Linked DNA regions of Homo sapiens: region 2 is linked to region 1. Evidence: promoter capture Hi-C in 16 types of primary human blood cells and fetal thymus (Javierre and others, 2016). All regions are on one chromosome and are shown on one strand. The core of a region is centred on a gene start or on the middle of the fragment in contact, and the rest is flanking DNA. Distances in the headings are between cores, read along the strand shown.

Region 1 (2,542 bases), core at 27-2,526:
TTTAATCATCTAATTTATCTTTTCCCAATGATATAAAGAAATAGAAAAGAGATTAAGAACCTATTGAATGTTGAATGATCTTTGCAACATAAGAGTAAGAATGACTTCTTTTCAGTATTTCCTACGTGTCTGACATGGAGCTAAGTGTTTTATGTCCATTACCTTGTTTAATCCCTCAATGACTCAACAAAATGGCGGCCATTATTATTCATATTTTACAGATGGAGGAGCTAAAGCCCAGAGGTAAAGTAACTTGCCCAAGATGACCAACTGAAGAAGCAGAGATTTGAACCCAGACCTGTCTGGTTCCTTCTGGATGGTAACTAAACCCAAATGCAAGGCACCTCAAACCTTGAAATGAGGTGGCTTAAGATGTAACGACATCCTAAGGACCGAATCACTGAGGTTGAATCCATTGATCTGACCAGCTGCCATGGCGGCCACTTCCTCCTTTCTCACCCCATGCCCCTGTCTATGAAGCTTCATGCAGCTGCTGTGGGACACTCTGCTAGGTGCCACAAAGTTCAAGAGACTTTGCCTACATGTATAAATATATTCTTAGGAAAGTTATAAGTTCACAAGAATTGAAATAAAACTCGAAGTGCATCCTATTCCTAATTAATAGCTCAGTGTAGGTGGTCTGGGAGAAAGCTTATCAAGAAACCAAATGCTCACAGGTTGTTAACCATCCTCTTCTTTACAGCAACCACATATGGCCCTCTTTGTCCACTTCTGAAGGAAACGGAATAAGAACTGCATTGTACAAGATCCATCAGATCTGCCCCTACTTTTAAACAGGTAACACAAATGCAGAACTTTTCAACGGGGTAAAGGAGCAACAAATATGCCTTAAATAGCCAAAGGTTTCATCCAGCAGAGGTTAACATACGCTGTGGGGAAATAAGAGCTAGAAAAAACTTGCCACAGTGCATAGGACCGTTCAATCTGAATAGAAGAGCTGACCAGGTTTGATCCGCAATCAGTGAAAAGAAACCCACGCTCTCAAGCATCTGCAAGAAATTCCTCAGATCAATAGCCCCAAGGTCACTAATCATTAATCTAGACAAAATAGTAAATACTAAAAATCTAAATAACCCTACTTCCCTCCCCTCAATATTAGCTCAAATTATCTCCTTTTTAGAAAATACCCATGCAGCCCTTATATCTTTTTAATGAGAGTTACAACAAACAAAGCTAAGGTTCTTACCCCACGGCTTGCACTCTCTCAGCAGAGCTGCAGGTGCGTGGATGATTCGTTGACACGGTCAGAATTGGCTGCAGGAGGGAATTGAATCGAGGTTTTCTGTAAAGCTTAAACCCCATCCGCCCTCTTCTGCATGCTACTGGTATTGCATGTTATATATATTCATTATAATCTTAGCACTTTTTTAAATTGTGGTCAAATACACATAACATAGGAGTTATCATGCTCACCATCTTTCTATTTTTATTTTTATTTTTATTTTTTTTGAGGTAGGGTCTCACTTTGTCACCCAGGCTGGAGTGCAGTGGTGTGATCACTGCTCACTGCAGCCTTGACCTCTTGCGCTAAAGCCCGCAAGAGGCTGGGCTTCTCAGTCCCGCAAATGTCTGGGACTACAGGCGCTCACCAACTGGCCTGGCTAAGTTTTTTGTATTTTTTGTAGAGACGGGGTTTCGCCAGTTGCCCAGGCTGGTCTTGAACTCCTGAGCTCAAGTGATCTGCCTGTCTCGGCCTCCCAAAGTGCTAGGATTACGGTGTGAGCCACCGCGCCTGACCTTAAGCATTTTTAAATGTACAATTTAGTGGCATTAATTAAGTACATTCACACTGTTGTGCAACCACCACCACTGCCCATCTCCAAAGATTTTTCGTCATCCCAAACTGAAATTCTATGCCATTAAAAAATAATTTCCCATTTTCCCCTTCCCTCAGACCCTGGAAACTATAATTCTACTTTCTGTCTGTGTGAATTTGACTACTCTAGGTACCTCATGTCCGTGGAGTTATACCATATTTGGTTTTTTGTGACTGGCTTATTTCATTGAGCATAATGTCTTTAAGGTTCATCCATATCATTTCTATTATTATTACATAGAATAATAGAATCTTTCCTTCCTTTTTTAAGGCTGAATACTATTTTGTTGTATGTACGTCCCACATTTTGTTCATTCATTCATCCATCAATGGACATTTGGGTAGTTTTCACCTTTTGGCTCTTGTGAATAATGCTGCTGTGAACGTGGTGCACAAATATCTATTTAAGTTGGTACTTAACATTCTTTTGAGTCTATACCTAGAAGTGGAATTCACGGATCGTATGACCATTCTGTTTAATTTTTTGCAGAACTACCATACTGGTTTTCCACAGCATCTTAGAGCTCTTTGATGATGCTTTTCTTCAAGGTGCAGGTCGGTTATCCCTTTCATCAGTTGGGTGGGGCAGTCATGTGATGATGGGCAGGAGTAGGAATGGTGACTCCATAATTTCAGCAATCAGGCAGGAAGAGGGTGGAAAGGAGTTATCTAGAGCAGTGGTCCCCAACCCCTGGGCCACAGACA
Region 2 (2,542 bases), core at 25-2,524, 570 kb before region 1:
TGATAGCTTACCTGACTTTTTTTTTTTTTTTTTTTTTAATAGACAGGGTCTCACTCTGTTGCTCAGGCTGGAGTGCAGTGGCACGATCACAGCACACTGCAGCCTCGAACTCCTGGGCTCAAGTGATCCTCCCACCTCAGCCTCCTGCGTAGCTGGGACTACAGACGCACACCACTTTGCATGGCTAACTTTTAAATTTTTTGTAGAGACGAAGTCTCCCCATGTTGCCCAGGGGTGGTCCAGAACACCTGGCCCCAAGCCGTCCTCCCACTTCAGCCTCCCAAAGCATTGGAATTATAGATGTGAGCCACTGCGTCCAGCCGGCCTTACCTGACTTTTGAAAGCCAGGTGAAAGAGAGGTTCAGGACTCCATATACACTGTCTACACTACAGCATGGTATACATCTCTCTTTCTAAATCCTTGCTGGGCACACAGGATTCTTCACAAACCAATTTCAACAGGGAACAGCCCATCTGAAAAATATGCACCATTCCTAAAGTCATGCCTTGCATTCCTGTGAAAGTCACTCCTGACTTGCTAAATAGCCACTGCAGGGCGCCTCAGAGTGACCACGATTGAAGTTGGATGAAACAACTTCTACTGATGCCAAATGGTGGTATATCACCCTGCCTGCGGACTAGTGGCGCCATGAATGTAAGATAATATTATGACAAGGAAGTTAAGAAGCACAGGAAATGAAAACAATACAGTGGCTTGGGATACAGATCCAGGACAGAAACGACTTCAGAGCGGTCAGGGTGTGTTTGTAAAAGCATAGGTTGTTTAAGCAAAAAACCATTGGGCAGAAACCCATAGCAGCCACTCTCAGTCCGCAGCTCACCAGGAGAAGTGCAGAACGTTTTGAAAAACTGTTCCACTCAAGCAAGGACTATGCTAGACAGAGGAGAGCTGTTGAGAAGGCAGAGGCTGTGTTTGGCCAGCCAAATCCCTCACAGGGCCACATTTGCTGACTAAGTAAATAAGAGTGGATGCTGAGAGGGGCCGTTAGAATGTGCAAGGGCTCACTTTAAAAATATGTTCCTAGGCTGGGTGCAGTGGCTCATGCTTATAATCCCAGCATTTTGGGAGGCCTAGGTGGGACGATCACGAGGTCAGGATTTGAGACCAGCCTGGCTAACATGGTGAAACCCCCGTCTCTACTAAAAATACAAACATTAGCTGGGTGTGGTGGCACGTGCCTGAAATCCCAGCTACATGGGAGGCTGAGGCAGGAGAATAGCTTGAACGTGGGTGGCAGAGGTTGCAGTGAGCCGAGATTGCGCCACTGCACTCCAGCCTGGGTGACAGAGTGAAACTTTGTCTCAGAAAAAAAAAAAGAAAATATGTTTCTATTTCCTTTGCTTCCTCTTATGTTCTGTTGATTTAGCACATACTGTGACAGCTTTTACTTTTGGCCTGATGGTAGCTTGGTCAGGGAGTCTGAATATGTGGACAGGGTACAGGATTTGGTCCTCTTGTTTAGTGTTCATTTCTGCAGTGGATCTAACTCCTGGCGGTCCTTGATAAGCTGATCTGGGGCTTTCCTAGGTCCCCTAAGCCTGATGAGACTGCACGAGTGGGCAGGGGAGGGACTTAAGATTCTTGCCAATCTGACCGTAAGATAAACAGGGGTAAATGGCCAAGAGATGTTGGCCAGAGGAAGGCCTTTGAGTGCCTCAGGAACCAAGTAGGAGAGGAATCTGAGGAATTGAGGCTGCTCAGACGTGCCAGACGTTGGCTGGCTGGTTTCCAGTGGTGAGCCAGATGGTTTTGAGAACCAGAGGCCAGTATTTTGGGCAGGAGTAGTGACTTGTGAGAAATGAAGTAGAAAAAGGCCAGGAACCCTGACATCTAAGAAGGTGGATGGATGGGATGGCAAAGAGTCTTACACCCCAGAAATCCTCCCATTTCAGATAAGGAATAAGAGGTACACTCTAGACCCAAAAACTGTGTTTTGGGTGGGAGGAGACTTGCCTAGAGACCCGGCCAATAGGACATTCCAAGAGGTGAGACTGATCTGCCAGCCGGACTTTCAATATCCAATTCACCCTTTTACTTACTCTAAGCCCAAGAAATGAGAATTAGGGGAACCCTATCTCTGTGAGGGAAATCCCAGCTCCAAAAAGTTTATCCCCTCAAGATGAGGTGATCAGTTCCCAGAACTGCAGCAAAGCCTGAGGCTAGGGCACCCAAAAACAAAGCTCCAAGAGCATTCAGGAGAACTGAAGGGAGGATTGTGGAAGCATCTCAGAATGTTCCAGGGCAGCAGAACAACCAGGCATGCTCTTAGGGTCATGTAACATTAGATGCTAAAGAGGCCCTAGGAATCTACACAGAAAAGACCTGGCTGGGCGCGTTGGCTCATGCTTGTAATCCCAGCACTTTGGGAGGCCGAGGCGGGCGAATCACTTGAGGTCAGGAGTTCGAGACCAGCCTAGCCAACATGGTGAAACCCTGTGTCTACTAAAAATACAAAAATTAGCCACCCATGGTGGTAAACAGCTGTAATTCCAGCTACTCGGGAGGTCGAGGCATGAGAAT

What was found. Contacts are between HindIII fragments. The CHiCAGO score rates a contact against its expected background, and 5 or more counts as called.
Region 2: a contact is called between a fragment that was not itself captured here and the fragment with the promoter of TLR10 in region 1, in 1 of 17 cell types (total CD8 T cells). The highest score is 5.5, in total CD8 T cells.

The regions. Positions count from the first base shown.
Region 1 is chr4:38,781,714-38,784,255 of GRCh38, forward strand. It overlaps TLR10 (toll like receptor 10), which reads right to left and starts at 1,277. Exons shown (of 4, transcript NM_030956.4): 1 at 1,208-1,277. RefSeq lists enhancers at 157-366, 429-598. The HindIII fragment of the contact is 660 bases long and covers 650-1,309 here.
Region 2 is chr4:38,209,976-38,212,517 of GRCh38, forward strand. No RefSeq gene overlaps it. Among named protein-coding and RNA genes, the nearest start is that of LINC02513, 160 kb to the right of the region's middle. The HindIII fragment of the contact is 5,169 bases long and covers 1-2,542 here.